2 separate regions of the Homo sapiens genome follow, and region 2 is linked to region 1. Evidence: promoter capture Hi-C in human tissues and cell types (Jung and others, 2019). All regions are on one chromosome and are shown on one strand. Each heading gives the region's core, a stretch centred on a gene start or on the middle of the fragment in contact. The rest is flanking DNA. Distances are from core to core; before and after follow the strand shown.

Region 1 (6,916 bases), core at 2,064-4,563:
AAACTTTGTAACTTAAAGGAAATTGAAATATCTGAAAGGGAAAAGGAGTGAAGGGCCTGGGAAGGCTAGGTAGGGCATGTTCAAAACCCCAATCCCGCAGGCAATACTAGGTTCCTCAACCAGGAGCCACACTGGCTGCAGGCTGGGAAGGCCAGGGCTCTGGAGGCCTCAGAGGCAACCCAGGGCGTCACCTTAACATCTGGAGGGTGACCCCCACCACCCTCCTAGTAGGAGAGCCAGGGAGAAACTCAGGCCGTGAAGGTCTCCAAAACCCTGGAGGCGTCCCCAGATTCCGCTCTCAATTGGGTGGGCCCACAAGGAACAGAGCTCTCCAAGTCTCAGGCCTGGGAGGAGACCCATTTCCTCACTTCAAACTGCCAGGGGACAGGGATCTCCCCCAGAAGCCTGAAGGGAAGTCACCCCCTGACCCCAATTCTTGGCTTCAACCTATCAAGGCTGTAGCGCTAGACAGCTCCGGCCCAGGTAGGGGTTCAGGTCAACAGCTTCAGGGCTCATGGGGTCCCTGATCCAATCTGGCAGAGCCCATGGGGGAATGCGGCTCTGCGGACCCCAGGCCTAAGGGGGCATCGTCCCAAACACCCGACGCGCCCCCATCACCAGTTCCTCACTGGCAGGCCCCAAGCGGGAACGGGATTGGGAAGGCTTCGGGCCTGGGGGGCCTTACCCCGATGCCCCAGGGGCGCCCTGAACCCAGTTCCAGCCAGGCGGCGGCACCTCAGGCAGCGCAGGGAGCGCGACCGGCTCGGGGAGGGGGAGGACGCGGCGCTCCCGCCCTCCCTCGGTCCGCCTGTCCATCTCCAGGTCCCTCTGTCCGCCGGCCCCCTGGCTCTGCCCACCCTGGGGCTGGTGGTGGGCGCGGGCCGGGCCTAGGCCCATGCCCGGCCCCCCTTACTGCCTGCCCTCCTCCCTCACCACCCCACCCCACCCCCCCAGTGCTCGGCCTCGTTTCGTCACCGGATCCCCTGGAATGGGGGACGCGGGCGCGAAATACGAACCCAGCCACCGGCAGCTCCCTCCCCACGTGCGCTCGGCCCGCAGCGCAGAGGGCGGCCCGGGGTGGGGGCGCCTCACCTTTGCCCTCCATGGCGTGCACGAAGTCCCCCTGGTACAGCTGGCTGCGAAGCTTCTCCTCCAGGCTGAAGCCGCGGACGCTGACGATCTCCTCCACGTCCGACAAGTCCTCGTTCTCGTCGTATCGCTGGCGGTCAATCGGGCGCTGCGAGGACCCAAACCAGAGAGCCCGGGACATTATTGTGGGGGCTGGAGGTCGCCTCTCAACCTGGGCCCAGCACTAACAGGTGCAGCAGCCGAGCGCCCCCTGCACCCCACCATTGCAACCCAAGCAACTTTGCGCAATTGCCAAAGATGCTGAAAAGCAGGACAAGGAGAGGGGCCCGCACCCCGAGGGTCCAGCTGCGCTCTACGCGGGGTACTCCCCTCCGGTGTCTTCGGAAGCACTGAAGGGACATCTGGGGACCCTCCCCTGCCCCCCGCCCCCGAAATGTGCTGGGCTTCGCCCACTCGGCCGGGAGCCTGGTTATGTAACCCGCGAAGGGGGCTCCGGACACGGGCTGGCGGGGCAAATGTAGGCCCCAGGAGGAGCCGCTGCGGCGCCCGGCTCGGCGGTAACAGCAGCCCCAGCGGCCGCGGCGGCAGAGCCGGGAAGCCGGAACCGGGGGCCGGCGGCATTTCTAAAGCTGGAGCCGCCCCCGAGCTACCGGGGAAGCTGGAAAGCTGAAATGGAAGGGCTGAGACCCCAGCCGCCCCCGCCGCCCGCCCGCCAGTGCAAGAAGAGGAGGTGGGGGGAGGAGAATCGGGGCTTGGAAGGGGGAGAGGCAGACGGCCCGCCACAAAGCTCGGATCGGAGACCCCAAAACGCACCAGCAGCTGCCTCATCTCCCCACAAGCGCGCGCGCACACTCACTTCCTAAGGAGACTCCCCCACCACTCCCCGCATCCCCCTGCCTCCTCCCTCCACCGCCCAGCGCCCGGCCCCTCAGCCCCCCAGATTCCGGGCGAACCCCGAGCCCGCTCAGCCCCCCTCCACGCCTTTCCCCGATACCACCTCCCCACTTAAGTGTCTGAGACTCTAAGCCTCACAAGGGGCTGGAGGAGTAAGCAGCTTGCTTCCTTTTGCATGCAATTTATTATATTTTTTTCCCGGTCCTCTTGCAAAATACAGAAAAGGAAAGAAAAGGCAGCGAGAAACAACCAAAAAAAAAAAAAAAAAGATCTATCATATGCCAGATACAGATTTGGAAAAAAAAAAAAAAAAAAAAAGCTACACACCAATCTTCTTCCAGAGTCTTTCTCTGCCTCCATTTTTTTAGGAGAGTTCACCAATTAATTGTCAACACTCCTGCCCCCTGCATTTTGGCCGAGGGGGGAAGGAGGGAAGACCAAAGAAAACAAACCAAAAAATAAATAAATAAAGCAAGCCAGAGCCGAGATCTACAAAGTTTTGCACCAACACTTAGGCAGATCCGTTTGCAAAGTCCTAGGAAACCATTTTCAGCAGTTGTGGGGGGGGGGAGGCGTCGACGTCATAATCCCCGGAACGTAAACATTGTTGCCGATCGCGCTCGGAGCCCGCGGCCGGGCTATTTGGGGGGGCTCTCGGCCCGGGCTTGGGGGGGTGGGGGCGGCGGCCCGAGGAGGTATGGGGCGGGGAGGGAGCCCGGGAGGCACCGGGCGCCGTTAGCGCCGTGGCATCGCTGTTTTGTTGTTGGGTCACGAGTGCGCCTCTGCACGCAGGCGCCGCCGCCGCCCGGGAGTTGTGTGCAGAGCTGACTTTTGGAGGGCCGAGTTGCAGGCGGCGGGCGCATCCCGGAGATGGCGGGGCAGGGAGGGAGGGAAGGAGGAGGGGGCGGGGAGGGAGGTGCAGATTTGCACGGCTGGCCTCAGCGGGAGGCGCGGAAATGCAAGCCGAGCATGCTGGCGTGAAAGCCCCCGGGGCCTGGCACCCCCAAAAACGACCCCCCACCTCCGTTCCTGCCCTCATTGCCCAGGGCTACCCCTCTTCCTCTTCTTTCATCCACCCCTCCCCCAACATTACCTGTGTGGCCGACTCAAATTCAAAGCATTTTGTATATATAACTGTTTTCTTTTTTTGCTTTTCTGCTGCATGTCTTTTTCGTGGGGGGTGATCCTCTGCAGATCCCCCCATTTGCGGACCCGCCATGTGGAGGAGGCATTTGGGGGGCTCAGAAGGAAATTAGCTCGGCTTCCATACCTATAAGGACTGCCTAACTTTTAAACTCCCGGCACTCAAAGATGTGGACACACACACGTACAGGAAATACAGCCAGACCAGAGCCTTTGCAGTCCGCAGCTGACCGGAAGACGTTGCCTTTCATTCATTCATTCTGCCCGCCTCTGTGGACTCCTTTACTAGGCGACCAGCCCTGAAACAGAAGTTGGACATTTTTTAAAGGTTCTTGCGCTCGGCAAGGGGAGCAGATAGATGCTCAGGAGCGAAAGACGCAGAGAATTGGATCTGGCGCCTCCTAACGCAGCCCGCACAGGAGCGAAGGGTAAGCCCTTGTTGGTAGTTTATAGAAGACAAGTCGGTGGAAAGGTGCATGGTGCTCTGGGATAGGTGGGGGGAACTCTAGTGCCCTTGATGAAGCCCCTACAGGGCTTCTTAGCGGAGGTATCGGCACCCTCCGTACATACATGGGTGTCATTAGGTCCCTGTCCACTTACTAGTGTTTTTGACTACCCCAGCACTGGTCCTGGGTTGTCTTGTCCTCCCATCATGAGCAACAGTCAGGTCGACTTGGCTTGAGAAAAGCTAGCCCTAAACATTCCTCCAGCCCCAGCTGTGGCGCCCTGCTAGGCCTGATCTTGCGGGTAAAGATGCTGATAAAATGACATGGCAAGAGGGAGACGATAAAGGGACATTGTAGATAGCAGGCTTTGAGCCTGACATTTTATTTCTGCCATAACCCTGTGGGATACTTGGAGCAGGTCATTTTGCAGATAGGGAAACTGAAGCTCAGAGAAATTATGAATCTGAATGATTGCTGTGCTCCCATATGGTCCCCAGGCTATCAGACAGACCTGTGGGGAGGACGTGGCTTCCCCACCAGGAGATACGATGTCACTATCAGCATCGTATTGGCCGTCCTAAGAGACAGCTTCCCCCTCACTCACCTTAGAAGTTTCCTGTCCTATCTGACTGTAGTCTTTCCCACCCATCCTCAAAGGCTACTCTTTGAAGTTTGTTTTCATTCATGTTCACTAGCTGTAAAAATCTTTTAAGCAGGGATGAGGCTGGGAAACATCAAAATTTGTTTCCAAACTGAAATCGCCCACGTTGGCTGCTGCGTGCAATCAGTAGCCCTTCGTGTGAGTGCTGCCGGTTCTGCCTTCAGTCCGTCCAGAACCATGGACCATTTTATTTGTTCCTGTCTTTCTCACAAGAACCCTTTAAGGGAAATCGTCTTGTTCGTTCCCATTTTGCAAAGGAGGAAATTAGGACTAAGAAAAGCAAAGCCACTCACCCAGGATCACATAGCGCGTATGTGCCGCTGCCAGGGCTCACACTGGAGCCTGGCTTGGCCATCACGTGCTTTTTTTTTTTTTTTTTTTTTTTTTAGTAACTTACCAGCCTCACTACTGCCCCATAATGAAATAAACATGTTCAAAGGAGGCTGCATGGGCTGGAGAGTGACGCAAAGTGAATTAAGTGAAATAAAGCAAAAAATATATAATAGAATGCTTCATCTAATTAATTCTTTTTTCTCCCTGAGGCCCTTCTTTCTCTCCAAGTGGCCTCATAGTGGCCCCAAAAGCTGGCATCAGAAAAAGGTCCAATGGCAGCCACCTTAGTATAAAAACAGTTAAGTCCATCTATCACCTCCACGAGGAGTTCCTGGCCTGTCAGAGTGGGAAGGGGCTGGGTAGTCACCTCATTTAATCCCCCCCCTTTACAAACCTCGAGGAAACCGCAAACACGAGAAAAGAATGGGCCAGCCGGGGGTTTGTTCCCCTTGGCCTCCCCCAGAATGCCTGCCCTGCTGCCGGGTCCTAAGTGGCCACTCAATAAATGTTGGGCCCTTGATGAATCACCTTCCCCCTCGATATTTGCATTTTCTCTTTATCAGTAATTGGCAGATGAAAGGCTTTGTCCTCCAGTTGAAAGAATTCCAAGCATTTGCTCAAAGTGGGGGAGGAGGTTATTTTGGACCAAAGGGGGAAGGGCCAAGACCCTGGAGCTCCCAGTGTTGACTAATTGTCCCAGAGAAGTGGAGAGTAGGTAAGGGAAGAGAGAAGGTGAAGGTGCTTACCCCAGAGATGTACTTTTTCTTGCAGGAAAACACCGGGCCGGTTGTATTGGAAACATAATAATAATTATTTCCTGGACCCTCCTGCTCGATCTTACAAAGGGCCCAGTCAAATCCTGCCTGAGTTACCCCCATTCATTCTTCATTCATCAAAGGTTGATTGAGCAACTCTGTGCCCAAAGACAGAGAGGCTAGAGAAAAGAAGATGCAGCGTGGGGCATGCAGATTGGGGCATACTCGAGGCTGGGTAGGACGATGGACCTGCAGCTTCCCAAGGAAAGGGTGGACACTGGATGTAGCTCTCAGAAACCAGAATCTTGATAAGAAATTGAAGTTGTTCTCATATTCATATATGATTATCATAACTCCTGATTTTTCTTTTCTTTTTTTTGAGAGAGGGTCTTGCTCTGTTGCCCAGGCTGGAGTGCAGTGACACAATCTCAGCTCACTGCAACCTCCACCTCCTGGACTCAGCAATGCTCCACCTTAGCCTTCCAAGTAGCTGAGACTACAGGAGTGCACCACCATGCCCAGCTAATTTTTGTATTTTTGGTAGAGACAGGGTTTTGCCGTGTTGCCCAGGCTGGTCTCCAACTCCTAGGCTCAAGTGTTCCTCCCACCTCGGCCTCCCAAAGTGCTGAGATTACAGCCGTAAGCCACCACACCTGGCCCTGTTTTGTTTTAATTTAAGGATATCTAATCATTCCACATCAGCATATGTGGAATGCTATAGCACATCAGCTATAGTTTCCTTATTCTTTCTAATGATTTCATAGCATTTCATTGGGCAGATAAATGGTGCAAGAATGATTTAATTAGTTCCCTAACTTTTAGATGGTTTTCAATCTTTTTCTATTGCAAACAGAGCTATAAGGGATTGCAGCTTTGTGCTTGAGTCTGTCAGTAGAATATATATCTGAAAGTGATCATCCACGTCTCAGGATTCCTACCCTATCACCAACTATTTGTCCTTGAGAAGTTTATTTGTAAGATCTGAGCAGGTGGGACAACCTCATATCCAACTGGTATCCCCAGGAGTCTACGCAGTGCCATGCCCTTGGCAGGCACTCAGAGAGAGTGGTTTAAGGGCTAACACTGCAAGCATTCACACTGTAATCAGATGGCCTCTTCTAGGAAACCTTTGCTGATATCCTTGGCCCCCTTTCCCCATGGACCCTTCATTCATTCCACAAATGTTTGTGGAAGGTTGATTAGGGGGACCCTGTATCAAATCAGCCTCTTAGGTATATATAGCCTGGTAGGTGAGTTAAAACAAATTCTGGAAAGCACTCTAAGGCTGTGCTGTTTGATGGGATACATTAGCTACATACAGCTACTTAAATTTAATTAAAATAAAATGTAAAATTCAGCTCCTTAACCCAGTACCTACATTTGAAGGGGCTAGAAGTGACAGCACTGAATGGTGCAGATACAGAATATCCCTATCATTGGCTGGGCGCTGTGGGTCACACCTGTAATCCCAGCATTTTGGGATGCTGAGGCAGGTGGATCACCTGAGGTCAGGAGTTCAAGACCAGCCTGGCCAACAGGATGAAACCCCCGTCTCTATTAAAAATACAAAAATTGGACAAGCGTGGTGGTGCACA
Region 2 (6,949 bases), core at 2,557-5,056, 56 kb before region 1:
TGGGCACGTTAAAGCTGTGCAGGATGTTTCCGCCGAACACCAAAGAGTCTACAGGGGTGTAGACGGCATGGATCCAACCTGGGGTGGGAAGGGCAAGGAGAGGATGAGCCGCTGGCCCCTGTGGGCTCCCACACCTCACAAGGCTGCAGGGAGGGAGAGCGAGCGTGCAGGAGGGTGCAGGGAGTGGAGAAGAGCAGCCAGGGCCTGGGGCAGCGGCGCCCAGCAATGCCTGCTGCACAACGCCCAGGCCTGAGCCGCCGAGAGGACTCAGACTTGCAGCCTCGAGCAGCCACTGTCTGGCTCAAGTCAGGAGCTGGGAAGCTGCAGATCAGCCCCCACTTCTTGAGGACCGTGATGACAAAAGCTTCCTCTGGGGACCTGGCTGCAATGGCCAGCAGAGAGGCAGGCCCTTTCTCCACCTCCATGCAGGCCACGGAGCCTCACCTCCCCTCCCAGGTGGCACATGTGTCCAGAGTCTTTCCTCACCATCCCAGAGGGGTCACAAAGGATGGCTGGGAACCATGACGCAGGAGTGACGTCTTGCCAGAGCTGCAGGACCCAAGCACTTTCCTCCGCCCAAGTCCATCTTCTTGTCATCAAACTCCACCCAGGCCCCTTTCCATGTGGTCTCCTTGGTCACACAACGCCTGCATGCCCCCCTCAGCTCTGCCCTCCACTCTGCCCCACAGGCTGCTGGTAAGTCTCTCCTGCAGCTTCTCACAGCTGGGAGCCGCAGTTTTTCATCTCTCCAAACTCCTAGCCTGGAGCCAGACACAGTCACCATCACAAGGGAAACGGAGGCAGGGCCAGGTGTAGTGGTGCACCTCTGTGATCCCAGCACTTTGGGAGGCTGAGGCGGGAAGATCGCTTGAGCTCAGCAGTTTGAGATCAGCCTGGACAATATAGTAATACCTCATCTCTAAAAAAAATTAAATAAATAGCAGGGCATGGTGGTGCACACCTGCGGTCCCAGCTACTCAGGAGGCTGAGGTGGGAGGATCACTTGAGCTCCAGAGGTTGAAGCTTCAGTGAACTGTGATCACACCCCTGCACTCCAGCCTGGGTAACAGAGATAACCATCTCAAAAAGAAAAAAAAAGAAGAAACGATAATAGAGGGCCCACCTTGTGCCAGGCACAGTGGTCTAAGGGCTTTTCAGGCCTTAACTCATTAATTCTCATGAAATCCCGAAAAAGTATATACTATATTCATGGCCGGGCATGGTGGCTCACGCCTGTAATCCCAGCACTTTGGGAGGCCGAGGTGGGCGGATCACCTGAGGTCGGGAGTTCGAGACCAGCCTGACCAACATGGAGAAACCCTGTCTCTATTAAAAATACAAAATTAGCCAGGCGTGTTGGTGCATGCCTGTAATCCCAGCTACTCAGGAGGCTGAGGCAGGGGAATCGCTTGAACCCGGAAGGTGAGGTTGCAGTGAGCCGAGATCGCACCATTGCACTCCAGCCTGGGCAACAAGAGTGAAACTCCGTCTCAAAAAAAAAAAAAAAAGTATATACTATATTCAACCTCAATTTACAGATGAGGGCCAGGCACGGTGGCTCATGCCTATAATCCCAGCACTTTGGAAGACCGAGGCGGGAGGATCACCTGAAGTCAGGAGTTTGAGACCAGCCTGGTCAATATGGCGAAACCCCGTCTCCACTAAAAATACAAAAATTAGCCAGGCTTGGTGGCACATGCCTGTAGTCCCAGCTACTTGGGAGGCGGAGGCATGAGAATTGCTTGAACCCCGGAGGTGGAGGTTGCAGTGAGCCAAGATCGCACCACTGCACTCCAGCCTGGGAGACAGAGCCAAAAACAACAACAAAAATTATGGATGAGGAAAGTGAGGCACAGAAAAATGAAGTCACCTATCAGGATTTTGAGCCCGGGAAGTCGGGCTCTGCATGGTCCATGAAGGCTGGGAGAAAGCCCCTCATTCACTGGGACACACAGCTACTGCACTGCAATTCACAGTGGCCATACTGCAAGTGCTCAGGTGACATGTGTGTGGCTCCTGGCTGCCGGGTCACACAGCGTGGGGCTAGGAGATGGGCAGGAGGAGAATCAACCCCAATTCACAGATGCTGAAACTGAGGGCACAAAGGGGGAAGCCACTTGCTGAATGAGTCACAGCTGGCAAGCGACAGCGGCTCCGTTTTTAGCCAGCACGCTGCACAGCTGCCGCTGCATCAAAGGTTCTGCACAGGACTGCAAGTCCCGGGGGAAAGGCTGGGAAATACAGAGGGGAGGCAAAAGGAGAAACGCAGAGAGAAATAAGGACAAGGGCGGACAGAGGCGGAGCAACTCACAGTGAAGGACAGAGGAGGGTTGGCTGGGGGAATGGTGCAGCAGAGGGAAGGGTGGCGGTGCCCCAAGACCCTGCACCTTGAAGGGCCTGGCCCTGGAGGCCGCTGTCCCCTCCTCTCCCAGCCATGCACTTTATTCTTTTGCTCTGAGGAAAATTACAGCGACTGCCTCTGCCCCCCAAGCCCGAGCGGTTCCAGTCTGTCCCCCAATGAAACACGCCAGCCCTGAGTCATGGGTGGTCACCACTGCTGGGAGCAACGCTCCTGCCTGGAAGACAGCACAGACTGCGGGGCCACTGCTGGCATCCGCAGTGGACACTCAGCCGCTGTCCCTTCCCACCAGGGCAACGCATGGAACAGAGCTGGCCATCCTCAGGGGAGAGCAAGGGAAAGCTCATCACCAGAAGCCCAGTGCTGCCGGGTACAGGCACGAGGGCTTTGCTTTAGGCAACCTCGTTCTGTGCCTGGCTCCCCGGGTCTCTGGCGTGAGCCATGAAAGACAGCTGCTCTGTGCGGTTGCAAGCGGCCGTCGAGCTCCCCAGCTTCCCATCCCACGACCTTCACCCTCCTCTGCACAGAAGCATGGCTGCCGCCCTGAAAGAGCCTCTGTCTCCACATCCGCTTCAGTCTCCTGCCTCTGCTGCCTGCAGGCTGACCTCAACATTTCCATGTTTCCACCAAGTGGAACCATGCTATTGAATGCTGTTATTGTCGCCATCCCCGTTATCCTAGCAACATTTCCTAAGATTGGGACCCGGGACCACCGGGTCATGTGATGCACAGGCAGGTGCATCTTATATGGCCCCACAAGCCTACCTCCCTCCCTGCAGAAAGCCCAAGTCCAGGGGCTAGGGTTCCATCCTGTCCCCTCCACTCCCCTCCCTTCTGGGGAACTTGGTGAGCAAGTCCTGAATCCATATAAGCAATTGGCATTGGTATCTGTGGTTGTCTCTGTCGATCACAAGGGCTCTGGTAGAGGATGGTGCCCACATGCATCCATCTTTCCCAGCCCTGGACTCTCCCTGTTCTCCTGGCAGGTGCAGAGGCCAACGCACCTGACTTACATCTGTTGCCCTGACACGTGAGGAAAGAGGAACACAGAGGAGAGCTGCTGCTGCGAGGAGGGGGCAGGGGATCTGCACGCCCAGACACTCGAGGGATTCTAGAAGCTTTTACCCACTCCCCTTCGCAGCCAGGGCCTCAAGGGTGGGTCAGGCAGCCACCCCTGGATTAGCCGCCACTGCGTCCCTCCCCCAGCTCTGCTCACATCTGCTTCATTACCCACATGCCTCCCTCAGTAAGAAGGAGGTGTGGAAATAACAGCGTTTGTGGGCCCCATCCATACCCCTCCTCCGATGGCCTCTCGACAGCCCAGGAAGCATGAGAGCCGGTGCTCCCAGGCTGCTGCCTGGGCTGGGAACGCTGGCATCTGCCTCCTGCTTCCAGCCAGAGTCATCGACAATATGAAGGCAATAAACAGAGGCTATTCAGGCCAAGCGACCAGGGACAGATGCAGTCATAGATGGGAAGCCAGTGATACACAAAGCAGCACATTCTCTGGGACCTCAGGGGGCCCAAGAAGGGCAGCAGGGGCAGGTGGGGCTCACCCACAACCTGAGCGTCTGCTCAGGACTCGGAATCCAAAGGCCCCACCCACATCTGCCTCCACCTCTGTGGCTTTAGCAGGAATAAACCTAGAGGTCTCAGAACTGGGCAAGGGACACCTCACAGACGCCCACAACCCAACCGGACCCTGGCTTCTTTCACCGACATCAGTGAACTCCCTGCGCCGGGCCAGGATCAGGAACGAACCTGTGGCTGCTGACATGAAGTAAGGATACTCTCCCTTCAAGGACCTCATAGTTGGGACCAGGGGCCAATTACTTCACGCCACCCCATGTTTAAAAATGGGGATATTTCTTTTGTTGTTGTTTTGTTGGGTTTTTGTTTTTTTGAGACAGAGCCTTACTGTGTCACCCAGGCTGGAGTGCAGTGGTGCCATCTCGGCTCACTGCAACCTCCACCTCCCAGGTTCAAGCCATTCTCCTGCCTCAGCCTCCTGAGTAGCTGGAATCACAGGCACACAAATTTTTACTAGAGATGAGGTTTTACCATGTTGGCCAAGCCGGTCTCTAACTCCCAGCCTCAGGTGATCCGCCCACCTCAGCCTCCCAAAGTGCTAAGTGCTGGGATTACAGGCGTGAGCCACCGTGCCACGCCAGTACATTCCATGTGACAATCTGAAATGCTGCCTTCCACCTAGAAAAATAGGAAGGTCTGGATTCCCACCTGGCCCTAGCTGGACTGGCTGAGCAGGTACTGCCCAGTTTCCCACGGCCCCAACCCATCCAGTCCCCTTCCCTGCTTTAGACCCATTTGATAGATGGATCGTCTGAGGCCCAACCACGTGACACCATTAAGGAATTTCTTCTCAGACTTGCTGGAGTGTAAGAAATACCTGGGGCTACCATGATATTTGGGTCTTCAGTGGTTCTTTCTAGAATGCAAGGATGGGAAATAACTTTAGGCCAGCCCAAGTCACAGATCCCTGGGTCTTCCCCAGGCACTGCCATCCCCACTTATATGACAAATAAGGTCCCCATACTGGCCTCTGCCACCCTGGATGCCACCTGGCTGGATAAGCTGCTCTCAGGAGGGAGGGGATCTGTCTTATGTCCCCTCCAAGGCCCCCCACATCATCTGGCACCAAGTGGGCCCTTAAGAAAGTTTGTTAAATGAAGCCGAGACTGGTAGCTCACACCTGTAATCCCAGCACTTTGGGAGGCCAAGGCAGGCGGATCACTTGAAGTCAGGAGTTTGAAACCAGCCTGGCCAACATGATGAAACCCCGTCTCTACTAAAAATAGAAAAAATTAGCTGGGTGTGGTGGCACACGCCTGTAATCCCAGCTACTCAGGAGGCTGAGGCAGGAGAATCACTTGAACCCAGGAGGTAAAAGTTGCAGTGAGCCAATATTGTGCCATTGCCCTCCAGCCTGGGTGACAGAGCAAGACTCTGCCTCAGGGGAAAAAAAAAAGAAAGTTTGTTAAATGAGCAAATAGTTCTCACATAGTCAAGAGTCAAGAAGGAGGACCAGATCCCAAGTCTCCTGACTCCCAAGCTACTGGAGTTCAAAGTAGGTATATTTAGGAATATGTGTTTTCAAAGTAGGCACACCTGGGTTCTTGCTCTGACCTGGTCACTGTGAGATCTTGGGCCTTAGGTATTTTCTTTATTTGTTTAAAAAAAAATGGTGTCACATGCCTGTAGTCCCAGCTACCCTAGAGGCTGTGATAGGACGATTGTTTAAGCCCAGGAGGTCAAGGCAACACTGCAATGAGCTGTGATCACAACATTGCACTCCAGTCTGGGCACAAGAGCAAGACCATGTCTCTAAAACAAAATTTAAAAATTTTTTTAGCCGGGCACAGTGGCTCACACCTGTAATCCCAGCACTTGGGGAGGCCGAGGCGGGCCGATCACCTGAGGTCAGGAGTTCAAGACCAGCCTGGGCAACATGGTAAAACCACGTCTCTACTAAAACTACAAAAATTAGCTGGGCGTGGTGGTGCACACTTGTAATCCCAGCTACTCAGGAGGCTGAGGCAGGAGAATCACTTGAACCCAGGAGGCGGAGGTTGCAGTGAGCCGAGATCATGCCATTGCACTCCAGCCTTGGCAACAAGAGCAACGCTCTGTCTGAAAAATTAAATAAATTTCTTTTTTATATTTTTTGAGACGGAGTCTCGCTCTGTCGCCCAGGCTGGAGTGCAGTGACGTGATCTCTGCTCACTGCAAGCTCTGCCTCCCGGGTTCACACCATTCTCTGGCCTCAGCCTCCCGAGCAGCTGGTACTACATAGGCACCCGCCGCCACGCCCAGATAATTTTTTTTTTTTTGTATTTTTAGTAGAGACGGGGTTTCACCGTGTTAGCCAGGATGGTCTCAATCTCCTGATCTGCCCGCCTTGGCCTCCCAAAGTGCTGGGATTACAGGCGTGAGCCACTGTGCCCAGCCTAAAAAAAAATTGTTTAAAAAAAGGTGGGGAGGCCGGGCACGGTGGCTCACACCTGTAATCCCAGCACTTTGGGAGGCCAAGGCGGGCAGATCAGGAGATTGAGACCATCCTGGCTAACACGGTGAAACCCCGTCTCTACTAAAAATACAAAAAAAGTTAGCCGGGCATGGTGGCAGGCGCCTGTAGTCCCAGCTACTCAGGAGGCTGAAACAGGAGAATGGCGTGAACCCAGGAAGCAGAGCTTGCAGTGAGCTGAGATCGCGCCACTGCACTCCAGACTGGGTGACAGAGGGAGACTCCGTCTCAAAAAAAAAAAAAAAAAAAAAAAAGTGGGGAATATTACATTTTTCCATAAATGCTTGCAGAGAAGATACATAATGTACATAAAATGTTCACTGGATCAAGCCATGCTACTCCAGCCTGGGCAACAAAGTAAGACCCTGACTCAATAAAATAAAATAAAATTTGTAAATGTTCATTGCTTATAACTGTTAACTATAGCTCACCTAGGCTGGCACAGCCAGAGTGGGGAGGCCGAGCCTGCAAATGTGGCCAGTATGCTCCCATAGGCCAGGTTGAGTTGGAGGAAAAAGACATCACCTGGTTCACCCCAGGTACTTAAA

The links. The method cuts DNA at HindIII sites, captures the fragments that hold promoters and counts their contacts. A contact is called where the count stands out against the background at its distance.
Region 2: a fragment that was not itself captured here is called in contact with the fragment with the promoter of KDM2B in region 1 in 1 of the 25 tissues and cell types used here (spleen).

Annotation. Positions count from the first base shown.
Region 1 is chr12:121,577,710-121,584,625 of GRCh38, forward strand. It overlaps KDM2B (lysine demethylase 2B), which reads right to left and starts at 3,314. Exons shown (of 23, transcript NM_032590.5): 1 at 3,077-3,314; 2 at 1,093-1,237. The coding sequence starts at 3,202. It overlaps KDM2B-DT (KDM2B divergent transcript), which reads left to right and starts at 2,802. Exons shown (of 4, transcript NR_183427.1): 1 at 2,802-3,554. RefSeq lists silencers at 1,356-1,435, 2,595-2,904, 2,985-3,034 and enhancers at 2,604-3,539, 4,475-5,410, 5,411-6,344. The HindIII fragment of the contact is 18,580 bases long and covers 236-6,916 here.
Region 2 is chr12:121,521,023-121,527,971 of GRCh38, forward strand. KDM2B (lysine demethylase 2B) reads right to left here. Exons shown (of 23, transcript NM_032590.5): 9 at 1-78. Among named protein-coding and RNA genes, the nearest start is that of KDM2B-DT, 56 kb to the right of the region's middle. RefSeq lists an enhancer at 2,190-2,379. The HindIII fragment of the contact is 6,227 bases long and covers 694-6,920 here.